Linked DNA regions of Homo sapiens: all the other regions are linked to region 2. The links are contacts of gene promoters, found by promoter capture Hi-C in blood cells and fetal thymus (Javierre and others, 2016). All regions are on one chromosome and are shown on one strand. The core of a region is centred on a gene start or on the middle of the fragment in contact, and the rest is flanking DNA. Distances in the headings are between cores, read along the strand shown.

Evidence for each region. Contacts are between HindIII fragments. The CHiCAGO score rates a contact against its expected background, and 5 or more counts as called.
Region 1: a contact is called between the fragment with the promoter of EPG5 here and the fragment with the promoter of PIK3C3 in region 2, in 1 of 17 cell types (total B cells). The highest score is 6.3, in total B cells.
Region 3: a contact is called between the fragment with the promoter of HAUS1 here and the fragment with the promoter of PIK3C3 in region 2, in 1 of 17 cell types (total B cells). The highest score is 5.4, in total B cells.
Region 4: the fragment with the promoter of ARK2N here is called in contact with the fragment with the promoter of PIK3C3 in region 2 in 1 of 17 cell types (total B cells); the score reaches 5.5 in total B cells.

What each region holds. Positions count from the first base shown.
Region 1 is chr18:45,964,569-45,970,814 of GRCh38, forward strand. It overlaps EPG5 (ectopic P-granules 5 autophagy tethering factor), which reads right to left and starts at 2,761. Exons shown (of 44, transcript NM_020964.3): 1 at 2,609-2,761. The coding sequence starts at 2,671. RefSeq lists an enhancer at 2,520-3,021. The HindIII fragment of the contact is 12,390 bases long and covers 1-6,246 here.
Region 2 is chr18:41,953,262-41,959,670 of GRCh38, forward strand. It overlaps PIK3C3 (phosphatidylinositol 3-kinase catalytic subunit type 3), which reads left to right and starts at 1,973. Exons shown (of 25, transcript NM_002647.4): 1 at 1,973-2,098; 2 at 4,309-4,497. The coding sequence starts at 2,031. RefSeq lists an enhancer at 1,751-1,930. The HindIII fragment of the contact is 3,603 bases long and covers 710-4,312 here.
Region 3 is chr18:46,101,653-46,107,669 of GRCh38, forward strand. It overlaps HAUS1 (HAUS augmin like complex subunit 1), which reads left to right and starts at 2,733. Exons shown (of 9, transcript NM_138443.4): 1 at 2,733-2,789; 2 at 3,542-3,716. The coding sequence starts at 2,760. It also overlaps a transcript of ATP5F1A not described here. RefSeq lists a silencer at 2,558-2,657 and an enhancer at 3,048-3,137. The HindIII fragment of the contact is 1,925 bases long and covers 1,323-3,247 here.
Region 4 is chr18:46,169,085-46,175,297 of GRCh38, forward strand. It overlaps ARK2N (arkadia (RNF111) N-terminal like PKA signaling regulator 2N), which reads left to right and starts at 4,950. Exons shown (of 5, transcript NM_145055.5): 1 at 4,950-5,246. RefSeq lists enhancers at 4,524-4,573, 4,894-5,153, 5,184-5,233, 5,834-5,963. The HindIII fragment of the contact is 7,725 bases long and covers 4,134-6,213 here.

The DNA.
Region 1 (6,246 bases), core at 1,511-4,010, 4.0 Mb after region 2:
AGTAGGTTTAGGGATCTTATGCATAGCTGGCCAATGGCTTTTTTCTTCCTCCTGGGCCTGGATAGTTCTTTACCAACCCAATACAATGCAAAAGCATTTCTTTTAAAAATATTTCTGAGCCGGGTGTGGTGGCTCATGCCTGTAATCCCAGCACTGTGGGAGGCCGAGGTGGGCAGATCACCTGGGGTCTGGAGTTCGAGACCAGCCTGACCAACATGGTGAAACCTCATCTCCACTAACAATACAAAAATTACCCAGCCTGTAATCCCAGCTACTCGGGAGGCTGAGGCAGGAGAATTGCTTGAAGCCAGGTGGCAGACGTTGTGGTGAGCAGAGATCGCGCCACTGCACTCCAGCCTGGGCAACAAAAGCGAAACTCTGTCTCAAAATAAATAAATAAAATTCCTGAAATTTGGTACCAAAATGACTTTCTCACCAGAATAACTCCTCACAGACCTGGATACACCAATGTGTCTAACTCCACTACAGCCGTTTAAAAAGTCATATCAAGAAAACGTGGTAAATACTCAGCATGGAATACTATGCAGCCATAAAAAAGAACAAAATCGTGTCCCCTGCAGCAACATGGATGCAGTTAGAGGTAATTATCCTAAGCAAATTAATGCAGAAACAGAAAATCAAATACCACGTTCTCACTTATAAGTGGGAGCTAAACATTAAGTACACATGGACACAAAGAAGGGAATAATAGACACCAGGGCCTACTTGAGGGCAGAAGGTGGGAAGAAGGGAAGGATAAAAAAACCACCTGTCAAGCACTATACTCATTACCTGGGTGACAAAATAATCTGCACACTAAACCACCAAGGTGTGCATTTGCCCATGTAGTAAACCTCCACTTGTACCCTCTAAACCTAAAATAAAAGTTGGAAAGAAAAAAAAAGAGCATCATAATGAAAGAAATCCACATAAGTCATCTACAGTCTACTAAGTATGGTACCTATGAACACTACCCTCCTGTTAAAACCTTGTTCCCATGAGAAAATCGGATTACAGTATCATGCTTAAATTACACCTGCTTTGGAACATCACCCACTTCTGGGGAAAAAAATGTCCTGTACTTGTAATACCATCCTCCTTATTTCCCAAATGTAAACTCTGTTTCAGGTAAGCCAAAATTATGAGGTCTGGCCATGCGGGAGCAGCATTTAATCTGTTCATCTTAGAAAATATATATAAATAGGGTGGGCGCGGTGGCTCACGCCTGTAATCCGGGCACTTTGGGAGGCCAAGATGGGCGGATCACCTGAGGTCAGGAGTTTGAGGCCAGCCTGACCAACAAGGAGAAACCCCGTCTCTACTAAAAATACAAAATTAGCCGTGTGTGGTGGCGCATGCCTGTAATCCCAGTTACTCGGGAGGCTGAGGCAGGAGAGTCGCTTGAACCCGGGAGGCGGAGGTTGCGGTGAGCCGAGATTGCACTCCGCCGAGATTGCACTCCAGCCTGGACGACAGAGCGAGACTCCATATCAAAACAAAAACAAAAACAAAACAAAACATAGGCTGGGCGCGGTGGCTCACGCCTGTAATCTCAGCACTTTGGGAGGCCGAGGCGGGCGGATCACGAGGTCAGGAGATCGAGACCATCCTGGCTAACACGGTGAAACCCCGTCTCTACTAAAAATACAAAAAATTAGCCGGGCGTGGTGGCAGGCGCCTGTAGTCCCAGCTACTCGGGAGGGAGGCTGAGGCAGGAGAATGGCGTGAACCTGGGAGGCGGAGCTTGCAGTGAGCCGAGATCGCGCCACTGCACTCCGGCCTGGGCGACAGAGCAAGACTCTGTCTCAAAAAAAAAAAAAAAAATACATATACATATATATACACACACACATATGTATATATGTACGTATATATGTATATATGTGTACATATGTATATATGTGTATATATGTACTATAATAAAATGAAAATCCAGACTGCACTTATAAACAAATCAACTTAAAATCACTCTAATACCACATGTAGTCTAATACAGGAAACTCAGAAAATTCAAACACTTCCCTACTGTGTGAGTCCCGCCCTGGGTTAATTTCTAGCCATTCATGCCCCTTATAAACAATCAAGACAATAAGAAATAAACAGAGGCAGCACTACTATCATCTTGAACTTTCAAAGTGATCAGAAATGGCACAGCACTAGTCTACTTATAAAGTTCTGCCAAAGGTACCTTCTCCGCGTGGAGGAGGGGAACATTCCCTCTTTATGCATGGCAGGGACTAAAAATGTTCTAGGATATAAAAGAGTAAAGAGAGAGTCAACGATGGGGCTGGAAAGAGAAAAATTATTTCACGGCAGGAAACCAGACCCAGGTGAGGAAAGCCAAGAGAGCAGAAAAGGAAGAGGCCAGTGAAGTCACAGGAGGGAGAAGGAAAAATGGGGTCCTGACAGAGTGTGGCAGGGGGATATGGAGAAGGAATGGAGGAGAAGGGCCGGTGTCAACGGGTGGTGGGATCAAATATTGGAAGGTGGAGGCGGAAGATGCAGAGGGCTCAGGGAACGGGAGTAGAATTGGCTGGGGAGGCCGAAGAGAGGAGCAAGGAGACACAGCACACTGCCAGAGCCTCGGGAGGGTGGGGGAGATCCTCACCTTTGTTTTAGTCCGGCTGGCCTTGGCCTTGGCCCGGCGCTGGGGCTTCACCGCCTCGGCCATAGACCCTTCCGCGGCGCCGTCACCGTTTGTTTTTGTCAAACCCCTGCGCTTCAAGCAACCTGCCCGGTTCTGGCCTCCGGACTGTCACATGATCGAATCTCCGCCACTCCCGGAGAAGAGGCGGTGAGTCGGCGCCTCTACGGGCCGCAACGTAGGACAAACCACTCCAGGACGCATTTGCACTGGAGGAAGGCAGGCCCGCCCCCTTCCCGGAGCCCAGGCCCCACCCCTAGCCCTGGCTCCACCCGGCGCGCAGGTGTCTTGGGTTGCGCTGGACAAGGGCAGCGACCCAGGCTGACCCACCTCCTCCGTCTCCCGGCTCTGCGGAACCTCACTCAGTGCGGATCCCGGGCGCGCTCGCACACCTCACCCGCGTCGGCTTGAAGAAATCCGGAAAGTGGGTTTGCCATTCTTTTTTTTCATCTTCAGATAAACCAGATCCAGTCGGTTAGCCTAAATCCGCACTGCGCGCAAGGAAGAAACCCTGACGCCCATCGGGGTGTGCACTTCGGCGTCCTCTTTTGTAAAGGGGAATGATCACACCTGCCTTTTCGGATGTCATGAGAATTTAATGGGCTCTCCCAGAAAGGTGCCTGGTAGCGGCAGGCATGTCGGTACATGGTAGTTATTAATTATCATTACTGTACAAATTCCCAGACTGGAAAAAAGACATGTGCTCCTAAAAGGACAGGCAAACAGGTAACAAGATAAATAAGATCCGTAAAAGTATTCTTAGTATACATTTTACAGTGTGCTTCATTTGAAATTTCCAGATGTGAAAAACTTGTCCACATCTTCCCTTCCCAGCTCTAGGATTTCTGTGATTTGCTTGTATCCTTATTGTTAGTGTCTGTCAATCCTCCCAGAATGTAAGATCCTCAAAGGCAGGGTTCTTAATTTTGTTGCCTGATGTATCCAAGGGTCTTTAGAACACTGCACGTAGTAGCACATAGTAGATACTAAATAAATATTTCGTGAATCACACAAATGAGTATGAGTTTTGTCTGGCGGTGGGGTAAGATCGTTGAAATGGAGTGGGCCAGGCGCAGTGGCTCACGCCTGTAATCCCAGCACTCTGGGAGGCCGAGGCGGGTGGATCACCTGAGGTCAGGAGTTCAAGACCAGCCTGGGCAACATGGTGAAACCCCAACTCTACTAAAAATACAAAAAAGTCGCCGGGCATGGTGGTGGACGCCTGTAATTCCAGCTACTCGGGAGGCTGAGGCAGGAGAATTGAACCTGGGAGGCGGAGGTTGCAGTGAGCCGAGATCGCACCATTGCCCTCCAGCCTGGGCAACAAGAGCGAAACTCCCATCTCAAAAAAAAGAAAAGAAAAGAAAAAGAAGAAAAGGAAATGGAGTGTATGGGAGGGAGGAAAAAGACCATCCACCCACCTGTAGCATACCCTAGAATAAAAAATCCAGCAATATGGCATGAAAAATGGAAAAGACTTCAGAGATGCAGTTTGCTTGTTTGTGATGATATTTTAATTGAGTATATAATACAATTTCGTGTATTTTGTTCCCAAATCCTCAACAACAAAAATTATTAAGCTACTCAGAATATACATGTACTTTGTATGTCCTGGTGTGTGTGTGTGTGTGTGTGTGTGTGTGTGTGTGTGCATGTATATAAAGTTATCACCTGCAAAGAGTTGGCCAATATAAACAAAATCTTTATACCACCATTACTATCCATAACTTTTGCTGATATTTCTCCCAGTCTGGAATACCCTTGCTCTCTGACCTCTCCCAGTTTAAGTCATTTATGACATTTAAAGTTCTCTATGTGCTACCCACTACTTGGTCAGCAAAACACAACTGACCCTACTCTCAATTTGCATGTTTTACAGTTTAGTTGGGAAGCAGACACAATGCATAGATACATTGTGATACGTGTATCATCGCCTAACTGGTAAAAGAGGCATACATTGGAAAGACTGAATGAAGGGATGACACCAGGGCAGGGGTGAGTTCCACACAAAAAAGAGGTTAATCAGGGAGGATGGGAGAAAGAGGAGAAGGAGGAAAGAAATGAAGGTTCTTTAAAAAGCACCTCAGCCTGGCACAGTGGTTCACACCTATAATCCTAGCATTTTGGGAGACCGAGGCAGGCGGATTGCCTGAGTTCAGGAGTTCGAGACCAGCCTGGGCAACACAGTAAAACCCCATCTCTACTAAAATACAAAAAATTAGCCAGGCCTGGCAGCGTGCGCCTGTAGTCCCAGCTACTTGTCCCAGCTACTTGGGAGGCCAAGGCAGGAGAATTGCTTGAACCCAGGAGGTGGAGGCTGCAGTGAGCCAAGATCGTGCCACTGCACTCCAGCCTGGGTGACAGAGCAAGGCTCCGTCTCCAAAAAAAAAAAAAAAGCAACTCAAAACCACAGCCTCCTAGGACTGCATAAGGTACTTCTGCTGCATTTATGTGGCTTACTGCACTTCTCAAGATGGTGAATGTGAGTATGATGTATGATGACTGGAGAGGCCAGAGAGAGCCAGATTGCTCTGTATAAGCAGAGATTTAGAGAATTTAGAGAGGAAGGAAGAACAATATATAAGGGGAGGTGGAAACGAAGTCACCTGGCAGAGGGCTAACTACTAAGGAGACCTACATTTTCCATCACGAAGTTATCTGTCGTTGGATTAATTTCAGAAAGTGAGGCCAACAGCCAGACAATTCAAGTTCAGTAGAATCCAAACAAAAGGTAAAGCAACAATCAGTTAGGTAATGATATAATTTGAACCGAGAAGGTGGTTTTGAAACTACTCCTTTTGAAGGATATAGACTTGAAGTCTCTGTTGCCACAGCAACAATTTTAAAAGGGACAATGGGAGCAGGGGCTCAGAAAAGTTCCCGAACATATGCAGTCAAGGATTTCATGTCCCAGCCAGACAACTGACTGATAAGCAACCTGAGTTCCCAGGGCTGCTAAACCCAACCTGTGAGACAGTAGCTTGAAAAAGTAAACAGGCCGGCAGTGGTGGTTCACACCTGTTATCCCAGCACTTTGGGAGGCAGAGCAGCGCAGATCACTTGAGGTCAGGAGACCAGCCTGGCCAACATGGTGAAACCCCATCTCTACTTAAAAAAATACCAAAATTAGCGTAGCGTCATGGCATACACCTGGAATTCCAGCTACTTGGGAGGCTGAGGCAGGAGAATCGCTTGAACCCAGGAGGCGGAGGTTGCAGTGAACCAAGATGGCGCCACTGCACTCCAGCCTGGGCAACAGAGCGAGACTCCATCTCAAAAAAAAAAAAAAAGTAAACCAATTCCTGGAAGTAAAGTATCATCTCAGGAAAGTCAAATACAAAGCAGATAAAGTAATTTAAGCTGACAGCATAATCCTTTTGTGTTAAATTAGGAATAAACTGTATCTTTTTGTATTTAAAGTGCTTGTACTGGTTACGATAATTTGGCAAATTAAAGGATATAGACCTTATGATTCCAAATTAAAATATGTATTTTACTACCTGATTTTAGATTACATATATTTTAGTTAAAAATAAGATAATTTTATACGGCTTACATAATCATGGAATATCTCTGAGAAATTAAGATCTATCATATTTATA
Region 2 (6,409 bases), core at 723-3,222:
CATTGTCAATATTTTATTCAAGATTGAGGTTTCACATCAAACCTCACACTCATTGCTGGAGTTATGCCTTAAACAGAGTACTTGTGACAACAGTGTTACTGTTGAATGGCTGTGATAATTAGAAAGTTCAATTTGTATTGTTTGTTGAAATTACATTTCCTGTAAGTTCCAACCATTGGTGGCAGTTATTCTTAGGAACAAATCAAAGGTGCTCTTTTTGTTTAAACTTTAAGTTATAGGAGGATAACTATCATGTTTTTCTTTATTCTACCCAAATCCTTTTCTTGCCTCCATAAATATTTTTGAGAACTTATTTTGTGTAAAACATTCTGCATTAGCCATTTTTTTTCCTTTTCCAGGTTAAACAGCTCCACACCTTTCACCCTTTCTTGGAAATATTTTTTTTCTAATCCCTCAACATTCTAATTACGCCATTTTGCACATACTTTAGTGATGTCCGTCTTAAAATGCAGCACTTAGAAATAAAGACATAGGCTGGGCGAGGTGGCTCACGCCTGTAATCCCAGCACTTTGGGAGGCCGAGGAGGGCGGATCACGAGGTCAGGAAATCGAGACCATCCTGGCTAACACGGTGAAACCCTGACTCTACTAAAAAATACAAAAAATTAGCCGCGCGTGACGGCGGGCACCTGAAGTCCCAGCTACTTGGGGGGCTGAGGCAGGAGAATGGCATGAACCTGGGAGGTGAAGCTTGCAGTGAGCCGAGATCGCGCCACTGCACTCCAGCCTGGGCAACAGAGAGACGGGCACTCCAGCCTGGGCAACAGAGCGACTCTGTCTCAAAAAAAAAAAAAAAAAAAAAAAAAGAAATGACATAGCAGTTTGGGAGGCCAGGGCAGGCAGATCACTGGAGGTTAGGAGTTTGAGACCCGACTGGCCAACATGGTGAAACCCCATCTCTATTAAAAATACAAAAATTAGCCTGACTGGGTGGCGGGTGCCTGTAATCCCAGCTACTTGGGAGGCTGATGCAGGAGAATCGCTTGAACCCAGGAGATGGAGGTTGCAGTGAGCCGAGATGGTGCCAGCCTGGGCGACAATAGCAAAACTCCATCTCAAAAAAAAAAAAAAAAAAGAAATAAAGGCATAGAAAATGGAGACTTTCATTCAATATCATCATTAATAACCAGTAAGTAGGAAGTATTAAACTCAGCAATGCATTAGACAGCTAGCGGGGCAAGACACGGAAGTAAATGGCACACTGGTCTTACCTTCCAAGAGTTTTCAATCTAATTGGAAGGGAGTATTACAATTTTAGATTATAATAATTATAAAAACAAACATTATAGGAGCTCAGAGGGTTTAGAGATCTGTGTTCTGTAGTTATTACAGGAGGCCTCTAGATTCTAACTTGGGTTAGGGCTTGAAACTACATTGAATTTGAATATTCCCAGTTTAAACATGCACGCAAGTATTATGTCCAAAGTAGCATGAATACTGACAACACCAAACATGAAACCCAGATTTATTTATTCTCTATTTAGTCCTTTCCCTACTCTTTAGAGCAGAAAGAGAAAATCCTTGCTTGAGATAGCAAATTAGTGCTACACTTTTTGGGAAGGCCACTGGAATTTAAACCTGGCAAAATTCCAATTTTTGTGCTTGTAACCTGTTTAGCCGGCAGCCAGTGAAAGCTGTTATAATTCTTTTTGAATTGAATTTTCTTTCGTATTGTTTTAGGTACAGCTCAAGCTCAAATGATAGCGTCTCTTTTTCTTTAAAAAAAAAAAAAAGTGCTGTCAAGACAGGAAAACTGGAATGTAACCAGATTAGCCGTTTCCCGTATACATTTGCCCTTAAGCAAGATGGTGGGCGCCTTGTGCACATGCGCGGAAGGGTTGTTTCGGCGGGGAGTTCCGCCGCGTCGGAACTCGCTCCGGGCGTGGATTGGCGGCTTGCTGGCGGGGGCGGAACCGGAAGTTCCGTGTTGTGGGGCTCAGCTGGTTCATTTATGTTGTTTTTCCTGTACCTAAGTTCCCGCTGTAGGTGGTACCTTTGCAGACGGTGCGATGGGGGAAGCAGAGAAGTTTCACTACATCTATAGTTGTGACCTGGATATCAACGTCCAGCTTAAGATGTAAGAGAACACTCGGGACAGGGAGTGGGATTGCTGGGGCGTAGGGACGTGGGGGCAGGGGCCTGTTGGGAGTGAGAGGCAGAAAGTACGTGACTCGTCTCAAGGCCCAGATTGGGGGCGGCTGTGAGGGCTGTAGCCAGGGAGGCGCGAGAGAGTGGATCGTGGAGAGGGGCTCTTTTGGAAAAGGATTTAATACGTGGTCTCCGTGAGAAGCACAGCAGTAGGAATAGCCCTTAAGTTCCGCTGTATTTTACAGTCTTTAAAGTTTTTGCTGTTCAGCCTTTTGAGAGTTTATTACTATTTCATTGTAAATTAAGAAATCAAGTCTCGTCGTAAGTAAGAGGACGATCTTTATTTTGGAACGGGGCTTGTAGGGTGGAATGAAGGCTTCAGAAATTATGGAGAGGTAGACACAGGCAGATGCGATAGTTGAGAATAAGATGAGCACATGGTGTATTAGCACGGGAGGTGATAGAGGCCTAGAGTGAATCTTTGGGTAGTATGGCAGTGTTTAGTCAGGGAAGTTGGGAGTAAGTCGAAGATGAGGGTTCCAGTTTCAAAGGTACCAAGAAGATAGGAGAAAAGAGTCTTTGCAGGAAAACGTTGGGGCACCACGGCTGAAGTAAAGGTCAAGGGCGTGATATCTTGAGATGAGGATAATAGAACTGGTATAATGACGAGGGATGCACAAGACAGAGTTGGAAATTATGTCCCTTTTAAGGTGGTCATGTAGGAGTGTTGTCAAAGCTATCACAAATTATTGACCATAGCATCATCCATAATTAATAAACATTTCTTGTGTATGTTCAATTAATATTCAACAAATATGTGTCGGTCAAAGGCCTGCAGTAAGTGATAGATAAATTTTCTCAGTTGTCTGATGTACCTTTGAATGATCATTTCATTTTATTTTCAGAAGTCCCTTATTCGCTGACAAATACTTTACTTTTTAGTTTGTGGTGGTGGTGGTAAAAGTAATATGTCAACAACCACCTTGTACCTTTGTATGATACTTTATACACTCATTTAAGGTATTTTCCATAGCATACACCACTAGTAGTTTATACAGGATCAATATTGATAAAGGGCTTTCCTTCAGCTTGATGCTCAGTATTTCTTGGATATATGAATGCATTTTTTGAAATGTTTGAACATTAAAAATAAAGAAAAAGCCAAAAAAACCGGTCCCTTTTTTTTTTTTTTTTTTTTTTGGAGACAGGGTCTCACTCTGTCTCCTTTCCCTTTGGGATGACGTTCTGCTTCTTTTGCTTCAACTCTCATGCATTGTTCAGGATCATTTCAGACATCTATCTGGGGTACTAAGTCCCTTCCCCATGCCAGCCTAAGTACTCTTGAGACTCTGATTTATCTTACTGTAATGGGAAGAATATTGGCTTTGGCCTCCCTGCCCTAGTGTTTATTCTCAGCTCTGTTACTTACGTTGTGACTGTGGATAAGGAGTTTAGTTTATAAGTCTCTGTTTCCTCATTTATAAAATGAGAATATGGTGAAAATTATGTAAGAAAGAAAATATAAAATGCCTGGCACAGTATCTGATGTAATCTTGATGTCTAAAAAATGTTCCTCCCTCTGTGATAGTATCCTGTGCATATCTATTTATGACTTATACCACTGTTTTAAAGAAATGATCAGACAATGCATATGCATAGTAAAAGAAAAAAATGGAAAGAGTAGAATAAAAACATGCAGTTAAAAGTAAATTTTTTTCCCCAGAAGCAATGACTTAATATTTTATTGTAATACTGTATTGCTTATCTTTTCTTTCTTCTGGGCTTCTTTGTCCACTATGGTAAATGTTTCCTGAAAGAATAGATGAATATGTGGTCAACTTGAAATGAAGAAAATGAAACCAAGGCCTAGAAAGCTGGTGACTTCCAGAGGGTAGATCAAGGGTCAATGGCAGCGTTTAAAATTCAGAAGTATAAAATAGAGAAATGTGTTGATGAAGATGGGACTGATATTAGGTATGTTAGGATTTTAAGAAACCCTTATCATATATAAAAATGACATTAATTTCATATACAGGAAAATGTTGTTTAGGTAGCATACCTTAACACAAAGGTAAACTTTTTAGTACTTATGCATATATGTACATGCTTAAAGCATATATGTACATGCTTAGTACTTATGTATATATGTACATGCTTAAAAAATTCATGTCTGAAACATTGTTGGTCTTGTGCTTTCAGAGGAAGCTTGGAAGGGAAGAGAGAACAAAAGAGTTATAAAGCTGTCCTGGAAGACCCAATGTTGAAGTTCTCAGGACTATATCAAGAGACATGCTCTGATCTTTATGTTACTTGTCAAGTTTTTGCAGAAGGGAAGCCTTTGGCCTTGCCAGTGAGAACATCCTACAAAGCATTTAGTACAAGATGGAAGTAAGTTTTTTTGTGGCATATGGTATGTTACAGACTGTTCTTACCTTTCTTTATGGATGCTGCAAGTATAATTTAGTAGGATTATAGAGGAATTTCTTAATACCTATAGGCATTGATCAAATCATTTGAAGTAGAAACATACTCAGATAAAGTATTATGCATGTCAGTATTATAACTGCAATTGAAATAGAAATGGATTTATGTTTGTAGTTAGCATATTGACATTTTGATAAGCACTTGACTGATTTACATGACCAAAAACAAAAACACGTCTGTGGCATTTTAAAATTCTTTACCATCCTGTGCTCTTGAATGCATAAATACTTCTGGATAGTCTGAAATATTGTCCAACCTGATGTTTGGAGCTCAGATTTTTAGAGATAGATCTATTGCCATCGGTTCAGATAAAATTTTTATTATTATTTTACATATGAAACTAATTTATTTAGATTCATAGTTTATTCAGCATGGCACATTAGCAAGACCTTGTCAAGATGCAGGGTAAATATAATGAACATGAAGTTCCTGTTTTTTTCAGAAGAGTATTGTGGATCCTTAATCTGACTTCTTGACACTTCTTATTTGATAGACTATGTAGTGCAGTTCTGATGTTTGATCAGCGAGTGTTATTCAGCACTCTGGTAGGCTCAGTGTAGGATACACAGGCTGTATGCTTTTAAGGAAGGAGTGTTCATGGAAGACAGGATGTGACCACATGGACAGCCAGACTGTGCCATAGAGGGTTCAACCCTGTGTGTCCCAGGTGTCACCCAGTGTAGCTGGAAAGGGTTTTCAAACAGCAGAAGCCTGAACTCTGGTGATCTGGCCATATCGAAACCAAGTATTTTAATGGTGTAATTTCTTCAGTAGTCTTTGTGGAGAGATATCTGTCTGTCTGTCTGTCTATCTAGCCTATCTATCTGTATATATATATGTGTGTATATAGATATAGATATATATGTATATAGATATGTGTGTATGTGTATGTAGATATACACACACACATAAAAAATATATATATATACTTAATACTTTTTATTCTGGAAAATTTTAAACCTACAAAAATAGAATAATACAGTGAACGCCTAAGTTTCTGTTACATACCTACTGTTAACTCATGGCCAATCTTGTATTCTCACCATTTTGTAACAAACCTCAAACGTTATAACACCTTAACTGTAAGTATTTCTGTATATCTGTTTTTAAAGCATAACTACAGTATCATCATCATCACACCTAAAACAATGGAGCAGAATTCCTTAATTGTATCAGAGATTCTTAAACTGGAATCAGGAAGTCTTCAAACCCCTGAAGGTGTATGCAGAATTTTGTGTTTTGTGTACTTTTTCAGGGACAGAGCTCAAAGCTTTAATTAGATTTTTGAGGTCACCTATTACTCTCAGAAGAGTTAAAACAAATTTAGGTCTAGAAGGCCAAAAACATTTTGGTAAGGAAAAATGTATAGTGGCTTCTGTTGCATGACTTGACAAAAAAGGAAATTACAACAAAAGCAAATTCTCAATTACAAGATTAAAGGTTTTCTCCTCCTCCTCCCATTTGCCAACTCTTCTCTGCATTAGTTTTTATATTATATGTTTGCAAGAATATAAAAACTTCCATGTTTGATCTCTAAAAGTTGAATTTTTAACGTTTGTAGTTTTTAAATTGTGAAAGTACTGGAAAGTACGCTAAAATTATTTAAAACGACTTTGAAATTAAAATGTCTAAGCTATGTAGACAATAGATTTAGAAAAACACCTTATTTTGGATAAAATACCACGAGAATAGGCTTTTTAAAAAAATACTGTACAGGTGGATCACTTGAGGTCAGGAGTTCAAGACCAGCCTGGCCCACATGGTGAAACCCCCTATTAAAAATACAAAAATTGCCTGGACATGGTGGCAGGTACCT
Region 3 (6,017 bases), core at 1,483-3,982, 4.1 Mb after region 2:
GGGAGGCTGAAGCAGGTTGATCACTTGAAGTCAGGAGTTCAAGATGAGTCTGGCCAACATATCGAGATCCCTGCACCCCCTGCCCCATCTTTAGCTGGGCATGGTGGCACATGCCTGTAATCCCAGCTATTTAGGAGGCTGAGGCACGAGAATCACTTAAACCTGGGAGATGGAGGTTGCAGTGACCACTGCACTCCAGCTTGGGCAACACAGTGAGATTCTGTCTGAAAAAAAAAAAAAGGCCGGGCATGGTGGCTCATGCCTGTAATCCCAGCACGTTGGGAGGCTGAGGTGGGCGGATCACGAGGTCAGGAGATCGAGACCATCCTGGCTAACATGGTGAAACCCTGTCTCTACTAAAAGTACAAAAAATTAGCCGGGTGTGGTGGCGGGCACCTGTAGTCCCAGCTACTCGGGAGGCTGAGGCAGGAGAATGGCGTGAACCCGGGAGGCGGAGCTTGCAGTAAGCCGAGATTGCTCAACTGCACTCCAGCCTAGGCAACAGCACAAGACTCCCTCTCAAAAAAAAAAAAAAATTGCAGGGATATTTTGTAAAATTTGTAGTGATAAAAGTGGACAAAAGACATAAAGATAACTTTTTTTGCCCCATACTGAAGGGCTGCACCAGTTTATCTGAAATTTGGTTACAGAGCAGAGATATATTTAGTTTTTGTTTTTTTTTGTTTTTTGTGGTGGATTCTCACTCTGTCGCCCAGGCTGGAGTGCAGTGTCTCAATCTCAGCTCACTGCAAACTCTGCCTCCAGGGTTCAAGTGATTCTCTTGCCTCAGCCTCCCAAGTGGCTGGGATTACAGGCACGTGCCACCATGCCTGGCTAATTTTTGTATTTTTAGTAGAGATGGGGTTTTGCCATGTTGGTCAGGCTGGTCTTGAACTCCGGACCTCAGGTGATCCACCTGCCTCGGCCTCCCAAAGTGCTGAGAATATAGGTGTGAGGCACCGCATCCAGCCAGAGCAGAGATATGTTTGAAGCAAAAAGAATAAGCAAGACAGGCTGGGTGTGGTGCCTCATGCTTGTAATCCCAGCACTTTGAGAGGCCCAAGTGGGAGCATCACTTGGGGCCAGGAGTTCAAAAACAGCCTGGGCAACATAGTGAGACCCTCTTTCTACAAAAAATACAAAAAGTTAGCTGGGTGTGGTGGTGCACGCCTATAGTCCCAGCTACTAAGGAGGCTGAAGCGGGAGGATTGCTTGAGCCCAGGAGTTCAAGGTTGCAGTGAACTGTGATCACCACTATACTCCAGCTTGGACGAAAGAGCAAGACCCTGTCTCTAAAAATAAAATAAAATAAATAATAAATAAGCTTGGCTTGCTAGTAAGTTTCCTTTGAAAAGAAAATCATTTTAGGCTGGGTGTGTTGGCTCACACCTGTAATCCTAGCTCTTTGAGAGGCCGAGGCAGGCAGATCACTTGAGGTCAGGAGTTTGAGACCAGCCTGATCAACGTGGTGAAACCCCCCGTTCTACTAAAAATAAAAAAATTATCCCTGCATGCTAGCACAAGCCTGTAATCCCAGCTACTAGAGAGGATGAGACAGGAGAATTGCTTGAGCCTGGGGACGGGGGTTGGAGGTCGCAGTGAGCCAAGATCATGTCACTCTGCACTCCAGCCTAAGCGACAGAGAAACACTCCATCTCAAAAAGAAAAGAAAAGGTCGGGCGCAGTGCCTGTAATCCCAGCACTTTGGGAGGCCAAGGCGGGCGGATCACCTGAAGTCAGGAGTTCGAGACCAAGCTGGCCAACCTGATGAGATCCCATCTTTACTAAGATACAAAAAATTAGCTGGGCGTGGTGATGCACACCTGTAATCCCAGCTACTCGGAAGGCTGAGGCAGGAGAATCGCTTGAACCCGGGAAGCAGAGGTGGCAGTGAGCTGAGAGCCGAGAGCCGAGATCGTGCCACTGCCCTCCAGCCTGAACAACAGAGACTCCATCTCAAAAAAAAAAAAAAAAAAAAAAAAGCTGGGCGCGCTGGCTCACGCCTGTAATCCCAGCACTTTGGGAGGCCGAGGTGGGCGGATCATGAGGTTAGGAGTTCGAGACCAGCCTGGCCAATATGGTGAAACCCCGTCTCTACTAAAAACACAAAAATTAGCCAGGCGTGGTGGCGCTTGCCCGTAGTCCCAGCTACTTGGGAGGCTGAGACAGAAGAATCGCTTGAACCCAGGAGGCAGAGGTTGCAGTGAGCCGAGATCATGCCACTGCACTCCAGCCTGGGCGACAAAGCGAGACTCTGTCTCAAAAAAAAAAAATGTCCCTAGTTTTTAGGTTGGGGGAACTAACGGATCAAGTTAAGATTGCCTCAGCTCATATTGCCAGGGTAGAATATAAATTCTGAGTGGATGCAATCAATGTGGAAGAAACACAAACATCTTGCTAAGCAAGAACCAAACGTTTCAAGTACTTTTTTTTAACGACAAGTGATTCAAACAAGAAATAAAAATAAAAGAAAGAAAAAACAACCTGGTTCTAGGCGGCTCTATCTCTCGTAGTGTTGATTATACCGCGGAAGGCGGGAAGAGCTGGGAAGTGGCAACGAAGCGAGGCTTGCAATGCCAGAGCCTTCGACCAGCCTTGCACAGGGGCTCAACGGCCAGGAGTCTCAGGTAAAACCACAACTCCCAGAAATCCCGGGCCCGGCGAGGGGCGGGTGCCAACGGCGTGTGGGCGGGGCCTAGGGAGTGAGCGGGGCGCATCTCCCGCTAGGAGTTCCTAGTAAAGTGGCGGGAGCCGCAGCTATGGAGCCGCAGGAGGAGAGAGAAACGCAGGTGATGGGGCGGGAATGGGGATCGTTGGCCTCCTGGAAAACGCGTTTTTGACACCCCCGCGCCGACAGCGGGTCTCCTGTGCGCGCCACGTCTACTTTTCTCTCCCCTATTCCACACATCCGTCTTTTAGTGCCGCCGTCACTATCTGCAAGCCCCCCGTGCTTAGACTCTCCTGAAGGCCTTTCCCTTCCTGCCCGGGCCTCCCCTTGTTTGGATCTGGCCCGGGAGAGGCGTTGAGCAGCCCGTGTCCACAGACTCTGGAGTGGGACTTATGAAGCCAAACCCGCCTTCCGGTTCGCTGCTCAGCCCGGCGGCTTCCACATCTGAACTGCTTCCGCGCCCTGCATCCCAACACTGGGAGCCTCCCGGCGCGGCGGGGCTTCTGGTGATCGAGGGACAATTGCTTTTTTCAGACCATGCACGGTCTAATAATGCGTTCGCATTATTATGGTCTATTAAGCTTTAAGGTTTTTCAAGCGAGGCAAATTGTTAGCCTGTACCGCTTTTGCAGATTTGGAAAAGAACGGATTGTTCTCTGGTAATTTTCAGTATTGTACGTTTCTTTGTGTACTTGCTCACTTTTTATTTCCTGATATCTAGTATCTCCCTAAAGACAAGTGAGGTTGTGAAGTAGGACTCCAAAATAGTCACAGAAAGCATTTAGTTTGCTTTTGATCACTTCTTTGTCATATTCTCATCGAGCCATTACAGTAAACAAGGCTTATAATATTTGTCTTTCTTTTAATGGTTAGGTTGCTGCGTGGTTAAAAAAAATATTTGGAGATCATCCTATTCCACAGTATGAGGTGAACCCACGGACCACAGAGATTTTACATCACCTTTCAGAACGCAACAGGGTCCGGGACAGGGATGTCTACCTGGTAATAGAGGACTTGAAGCAGAAAGCAAGTGAATACGAGTCAGAAGGTGAGATTAAGTCCAGAGTTTTGAACGAGAATAAATAGAGGTAACCAAATTTTATAACACTAAAGTATACAGGATTAATTTACTGTAGACTACTTGTTTTGCTCCTTTATTTTTCCCAGATTTTCTTCCACTCTGTTATAGTAGTAACTTTATTGTTTTATGTTTATATATATGTATATGTATGTGTGTGTGTGTGTGTGTGTGTGTGTGTGTGTGTGTGTGTGTATATATTTTAGACAATCTTGCTCTGTCGCCCAGGCTGGAGTGCAGTGGTGTGATCTCAGCTCACTGCAACCTCCATCTCCTGGGTTCAAGTGATTCTCATGCCTCAGCCTCCCAAGTAGCTGGGACTACAGGCCTGCACCACCACACCCGGCTAATTTTTGTGTTTTAGTAAAGACAGGGTTTCACAATATTGGCCAGGCTGGTCTCGAACTCCTGACTTCAGGTGATCCGCCTGCCTCAGCCTCCCAAAGTGGTAGGATTAGAGGCATGAGCCACCCTGCCTGGCCAGTAGTAATTCTCTAAGTAATAAATGTTATTATACTAAATATCTTATTGGTACTCTGATAGCAAAACAGTAAGCCTTAAAAGAGTCTAAACTTGTTAGTCTGACACACAAGATGCCTTGTGGTTTTTTACTTACCTATCTGTTTTTTCTGTTTCCGGTCTCCATGATTTAGTCATACGGACCTATCAGGACACCTGAGGTGGTGGCCATGAAATGTGAGACTTGGACGAAATTACTCTATGACTACGTATCAGGAGATTGCATTAGAATTTTCTGCTGGGCATATATAGTTTGAAAAAGTGCATTCAAGGCCGGGCACGGTGGCTTACGCCTGTAATCCCAGCACTTTGGGAGGCCGAGGCGGGCGGATCACAAGGTCAGGAGATCAAGACCATCCTGGCTAACACGGTGAAACACCGTCTCTACTAAAAATACAAAAATTAGCCGGGCGTGGTGGCGGGCGCCTGTAGTTCCAGCTGCTCGGAAGGCTGAGGCCGGAGAATGGCGTGATCCCAGGAGGCGGAGCTTGCAGTGAGCCGAGATCGCACCACTGCACTCCAGCCTGGGCGACAGAGCAAGACTCCGTCTCAAAAAAAAAAAAAGAAAAAAAGAAAAAGTGCATTCAAGATGCCTATTGTTTTGATAATACAAACCACAAAAGTAAAGATTGACAAAAATCTTTTTAGATACGAGAATACACCAAAGAGAGGAAGTGAGGCCTGCATTTGCCCTATATTTAATCAGATGTATGGTATTTGTTACATATGATATTTTGAATATAGTGCAGTTTATATTTGATTCTATTGCATATGTGCTTTTTTCCAGTTTTCTTTTAAAAGTTAATATACAGCAGGGCCAGGTGCAGTGGCTCACGCCTGTAATCCCAGCACTTTGGGAGGCCAAGGTGGGCGGATCACTTGAGACCAGGAGTTTGAGACAAGCCTGGCCAAGATGGTAAAACCCCGTCTCTACTAAAAATACAAAAATTAGCCAGGTGTGGTGGTATGTGCCTGTAATCCCAGCTACTTGGGAGGCTGAGGCGGGAGAAATTCTTGAACCCGGGAGGTGGAGGCTGAAGTGAGCAGATATCACACCACTGCACTCCAGCCTGGGCAACAGAGTGAGACTCTCTCAACAACAAAAAAAAATTAATTAATTAATTAATTAAAAATTAACATACAGTAAAATTGACTTTTTATTTTTGTGTACCATTTTAATACACTTAGAGTGTAGAACCACTCTCACAATCTGAAATCACACAATCAAGATGCAGAACAGTTCCATCACCCCAAAAACCTCCCCTGTGCCACTCCTTTATAGCCATATTCTCCCATATATGTGCTTTTAAAATTGTCTTATTTTTAAATGATTTTATTTTTGTAATTATTAAAATACAGTGCAGAGAAAGGGACTTGGAGCCCAGAAAAATCTCATTTTATAAGAGCTTTCTTTTTTGTCTATCATATACTGTAACCAAAAATCTAAGGATTTCAAAGTAAAATTATTTATGTCTGTCCTTAAATACCTTTCAGGGTGATACATATTAAATAACAAATGTTCTAACTAATGTATGCAAAATTTTAACACAATTTTTATGTCTAGGTATCTAGAAGAGCATTGCCACCATTGAGATCTGATAGCTCTATGCATCATTACTTCTCTTTTCTAAGTTTTTCCTTCTTTTATACAGTGAAAGTGTTGAGCAGAAAATGAAAAATATGTGGAACTTTATAACAAGTGTACATTGATGTGTATTGGTAAAGAGTTTCAGCTTCCTCCATTTGCGATTC
Region 4 (6,213 bases), core at 3,700-6,199, 4.2 Mb after region 2:
GAGTGAGACCCGGTCTCAAAAAACAACAACAACAACAACAACAAAAAACAACCAACCAAACAAAAAATGAAACTGTCCTTTGCATTTATTTTCACTTTTTTTCCCCCATTTTCAGAACTTACAGACTTTCTAAATAGATGGAGTTTCAGGGGAATCACCTGGTTAGAAAGAGAGACTTGGAGCTGAGTTTCAGAGTACTTTACCCAAGACAGACCAGTCTTAATTGGCCAGCCCAGAGAACCAGGGTGGGGAGCTAGAGGTTTGTGGGGGAAAGGGGGCCCCCTCCCAGTCACCCTTGGCTACACTTTCATGGTATCCTTCTGCACTGTTCCATTCTGGTTCCACGTGAACCTGCTGCTCTGGAAAAATGAGTCTGTTGAGATGGAAATTTCACTGTATTTGACCACTGAGAGTCTGTGGCCTAGAAGGTGCTGGCCTGGAGTGCTGCCATCAGAGCGGCAGCCTCTTTCTAGAGCATTCTGTCTGAGCCGAGCATGGAGCTGAGAGCTGAAATCATGAGTCATTCTACCCTCACTCCTCCAGAGCCTGCAAGGGAGTACTGGGGGGTCATCCATGTCTGGCAGGCGAGGACAATGGGGCTCAGTGAGGTTACATAACTGCCTGAGGGTCACTCTGCTAGAGAGGTGGAACTCAGTCCAATGTCACATCTGTCAAACCCCAGAGCCCCTGGTCCTGACAACTGTCTGATCTTCCACTACTCAGAGTCCTTAGAATGCTTCTGGATGTCCTTGTGTTGGAGGAGGCCATTTAATCCTATGGAATGACGCTGTGAGGCAGAGCGAGTCATGTTAACCCTGGAAGCGGTGACTTGTCTGAGGTTCTGTGGCTACTATTGTGCAGAAGGTCAGCATTTCCCCAGAGGCCACTGCCTTCTAGCAGGTCCTGGGCGATCCTAGTGGGTGCTGGCTATGGTGGGGGTGGGTGGTTACGTTGAGGGAGGCCAGGTTGCCCCTTCTTCTTTTTGAGTCGGAGTCTCGCTGGAGTGCAGTGGCACAATTTCAGCTCACTGCAACCTCCGCCTCCCAGGTTCAAGCGATTCTCCTGCTTCAGCCTCCCGAGTAGCTGGGACTACAGGAGTGCACCACAACACCCGGCTAATTTTTTTTTTGAGACAGAGTCTCGCTCTGACGCCCAGGCTGGAGTTCAGTGGCGTGATCTGGGCTCACTGCAAGCTCCGCCTCCTGGGTTCAAGTGATTCTTCTGCCTCAGCCTCCTGAGTAGCTGGGACTACAGGTGCCTGCCACCATGCCTGGATAATTTGTTTTTGTATTTTTAGTAGAGACGGGGTTTCACCACGTTGGCCAGGCTGGTCTCAAACTCCTGACCTCATGACCCGCCCGCCTCGGCTTCCCAAAGTGCTGGGATTACAGGCATGAGCCACAGTGCCCAGCCTTTTCTTTTTTTTTTTTTTTTTTTTTGAGACAGAGTCTCGCTCTGCCACCCAGGCTAGAGTGCAGTGGCACAGTCTTGGCTCACTGCAACCTCCATCTCCAGGGTTCAAGTGATTCTCCTGTCTCAGCTTCCGGAGTAGCTGGGATTACAGGTGTGCACCACCACACCTGGCTAATTTTTTGTATTTTTAGTAGAGACGGGGTTTCACCATGTTGGCCAGGTTGGTCTTTTTTTTTTTTTTTTTTTTTTTTTTTTTTTGAGACGGAGTCTCGCTCTGTCGCCCAGGCCGGACTGCGGACTGCAGTGGCGCAATCTCGGCTCACTGCAAGCTCTGCCTCCCGGGTTCACGCCATTCTCCTGCCTCAGCCTCCCGAGTAGCTGGGACTACAGGCGCCCGCCACCGTGCCCGGCTAATTTTTTGTATTTTTAGTAGAGACGGGGTTTCACCTTGTTAGCCAGGATGGTCTCGATCTCCTGACCTCATGATCCACCCGCCTCGGCCTCCCAAAGTGCTGGGATTACAGGCGTGAGCCACCGCGCCCGGCCCAGGTTGGTCTTGAATTCCTGACCTCAGGTGATCTGCCCGCCTCAACCTCCCAAAGTGCTGGGATTATAGGCGTGAGCCACCGTGCCCGGCCTGTATTTTTTTTTTTTAGTAGAGATGGAGTTTCACCATGTTGGCCAGGCTGGTCTTGAACTCCCGACCTCAGGTGATCCGCCCACCTTGGCCTCCCAGTGTGCTAGGATTACAGGCGTGAGCCACCACGCCTGGCCTTAGGTTGCCCAATTCTTAGCAATCTGAGATGGAAGGGAGGGGGCAGCCCAGAGCCCAGAAATGAGGGTTCCCTCCCCTCGTCTCCCCCTACTTTCATCATCTCTAGAGTGGTTCTCATAATTGTGTCCATTTTACAGGGCAAATGGTAGAAGTAACCTGCTCAGTCAGGAGAGATCAGGTTACAGTCAAAGCCAGACCAGCCACGCCCTGATGCTACTGTCCAGGCCACCACAGCTGGCAGGTACCTGCTGCAGGCTTAGCCCCAGGCTAGGCGGTATATCAGGTGCAAAAAATGATGGTGAAGAGTGATTCTGACAGGCTTGGCTCTGGCCTCTAGGGCTATGACAGAAGTTGAGAGGATGACGAATATGGTTTAGTAGTAACCCTACAGATAGACCAAGGGCAGACATGTTTGTAGGAGAGTGTGTGTGAGCAGGGGAGTCCTGACCCACAGTGGAAGGCCAGGATGGAGGGGGTAATAAGGGTAGTGGTGACGGGGGTTGTGTCTGGGCTGAGCTGGTTTTATGGGAGAGATGGCATTTCAGGAGCTTGTAGAGCTAAGTATTGGATACACAGAAGACTTTGAGGCAGAAGTAGGATCCCTTCTGCTCCTACAGAAGAAGGGGAAGAAGCAAGTAACTGTACCATTTAATAATGGAAATATAGTAGTAATAAAAATATTAGTAATTAGGATATCAAATGCCCTAGCCTCCAAAAATATACAAAGGCCATTCGACGTAGGAAATTGACTTATTGGTATTAAACAGGAGAAGGGGCTGGGTGCGCTGGCTTACACCTGTAATCCCAGCACTTTGGGAGGCTGAGGTGGGTGGATAACCTGAGGTCAGGAGTTTGAGACTAGCCTGGCCAACATGGTGAAACCCCGTCTCTACTAAAAAACCAAAAAATTAGCTGGGTGTGGTGGCGTGCACCTGTAATCCCAGCTACTCGGGAGGCTGAGGCAGGAGAATCGCTTGAACTCGGGGGGCAGAGATTGCAGTGAGTCAAGATCGCGCCACTGAACTCCAGCCTGGGCGACAGAGCAAGACTCTGTCTCAAGAAAAAAACCAAAAAACCAAAACCAACCAACCAAACAAAAAACAAAGAAACAACAACCACAAAGCAAAAAACAAAAAACAAAAAACAGGAGAAGGACCCAAGATGGTATCTCAGTAGTCAGGGTCCTACTTCAGTATTTCTGCAGCATTGATTAGATCAGACTGTCAAGGAATCTTTTAAAAACTCAATGTATTAGTCCACATTCATTCATTTCCAGACTGAAAGTTGTGATCTTAGTGTGATTTTTCCTTTTCTTTTCTTTTTTTCCTGAAATAGGCTGGGCTCTTGTCACTACCCCATAACCTCTCAAATCCCTTGAGGACTCAGGTAGCAGAAAGTAAATAAATGAATGAACGAGTGAAATAACATACACGGATAAACTACTTAGCTAGCACACACTACGTTCTCTGTGATTCTCAGTGAGGCAGTTGGTGGCTGTGGTTAAGAAAGTAAGCTCTGCCTGTGTTGGAATCCAACACTGCCACTTACTTGGATGTGTCATCTTGGGCAGGTCACTCTGTCCCTCAGTTTCCACCTTTGCAATTTGGGACTAGTAACGCCATCCAACTCATAGGGTTGTTATGAGTTGTAATGAGGATTCAGTGGATTTAACCCATTTAAATGCAAGGTGCCTGGTATAATAAAATTATTTTCTTTTCTTAATTTATTCTTGTAGTTGGGGATGAAAAACTCGCACTCCTGTAGGCAGTCAGAAAAAATGAGTGAAGTGGGGGAACTAAGGGGCCTGGTCTGAAGGGGGAGACTGATATTTAGGGGAGTGCGGACCCAGTGGTGTGAGATTTTCAGAATCTCCTCTTGACGGGTCTCATCCGAGGTTCCAGCACAGCTCTGTAAAGGTAAAGACCGTTTACATTTTCCTCCTCAAAGCTTTATTATTATTATTTTTCTTCTCAAAACACTGCTTTGCTTTGGGGGAGCGCGGGTCCTTGGCCAGATCTTGAGTCTTGAGATATGTCTTCAGCATCTCCTGCTCCTCCTTGGGAAACGCTCCACCCGCCAGTGGGCCTGCGCCCTCCTCCCCTTCTTCGGGGTTCGGGTCCACCTCGTTTCCCCCACCCTCCCCAGGGCTGACTGCAAATCGGAGGGCGACTGCAGAGGCGGAATTCGGGGCAGAGCGGGGTCTCCCCAGCGGGCCACGTCCCACCAGCAGGTGGCGGTCGATCTGCAAGGCCTGCAAGGTGCCCGGACAGAAACTTGAGCAGATATTGGTGCCGCTGCCCGAGAAGAGCTCAGCCGAGTCTCCCCGAGCCCAGCTATCGGCATCCGCGAAAAAGCGGGGAGAGAAGGGCACGGGCTCTCCGCTGGAGCGACTCTGGGATTCAGACACCGCAAGCTGCTTTCGGAAGGGCTTCAGGAGGGGGTGAGTACTGAGCAGCGCACAGAAAAGGGAGCGCTGTCCTTTGCTGAAGGCATTGTCCTTGGCTTGCATTGAGTGGCTTTCCCACCCCCCGGGAAAGACATTTCGGGAAGGTGACGGTCTCAACAGAAGGAGGGAGCGCGGGAAAGAAGCCCGGGGAGCCGGCGCCTTCACGCCCCGCGGTCTGCAGCGGGAGGAGCGCGGGTTCCATCGCGCCAGATGGCGCTGTCTGGCTTTTCTCGGGCCTCGGGCGCCAGTCTCCAGAGGTCTCCGGCGCAGCTGCCTCTCTAGCCGGCCGACGCGGGCTCTGTGTTTCCGGGCGGAAGTGAGGCGCCCAGCGGAACGGCCTCTGGTGACATTTTCTTGGGGGCGGCGCGGACGACTGAAGGGACTTGGTGGTAGAGGCTGCGGAGGCGGCGAGGTTCACTTTGGTCCCGGCAGGGGCTCTGACCGCGACCCACTGCTCGCTGCCGGGGCTTGTTCCGAGGAGGAGAAGGCGGCGGTGGCCGTCGCGTCCTGAGTCACCGCAGCGGGGAAGAGTCCCGGCCGGGGGTTCGGTGCGTGCCCCGACGGGGCGCGCGCGAAGCGAGCGAGAAGGCACGGAGTCGCCGCGGAGCGCAGGTGAGGCGGGAAGGGGCGCAGGGCCGCGGCCTGGCTACTGGTCGAGTTGGGGGGCCCGGGTTGCGTCCCAGGGAGGGGTCGGGGCGAATCGGAGGGCTGCGGGCCGCGGTGAGGGCTCTGCGGCGTCCGGACGCTGGGGTCCTAGCGGGCCTGGCTGGTGGGCGCCGGGAACTCGCAGCCTGGATTGCCGGCTGACGCTGGGGCATCGCACCTCTCCGACCTCCTTGCTCGTCCGCCGTTGGTGACCCTAGCGTCCTCCCGGCCCGGCGGAGTTGGCTCCGGCACTCCAAGCCCCCAGACGCTGGGGCCGGGTTGAGGCGAGTCCTTTTCCGGGGGTGCTGAGGGGAGGCTGGAGGTGCCGCAGTCCCCGGGCTGCGGGGGGAAGCGACTTCACGGCCCTGGAGTTGTCTTCACGCAACTTTCCGGCTCCTAGGCCCGCGGGGGAAGCAGTGGCGGCAACTCCGCCAGCTCCGAGAGTAGGGGGTCTGGCGCCGACACCTGCCCCTGCAGCGGAGAGCTCCGGCGCCGCGGCCGCAGTGGCCTTGGTGGAGGGAGAAAAGGCTTTCTTATAGGCTTGGCGCCGCCTGCCTCTCGGCGCTTCCACTACCTTCGGTCGGCAGGCGCCTCCAGTCAATGCGAGAGATGTGTCAGTCTCCAAAATAGACCGCTTCTGGGGAGTTTGTCAACTTTATTTCAAAACCGGCGAGGATGTACACTGACGAACCCGTGTTAAAGACTATCGCCTTTACGCAAGCCATTCATTCTCACTTTAAAATTGTCCACCCCCCCGCCCCGACCCCCGTCCCCGGCAGCCCCCATCACAAAATTGATGCTCACAGGTTGAAGTAGAGAACATCGGTACGAGCCCTACCAGATCCTTGAGCAGTTTCTGTTTGGATGGGTTTTTCGTTTTTTGCCTGACCTTTTGCTTTCTGAATCCTCTTACCCAGTAGAATTAAAATCCTAC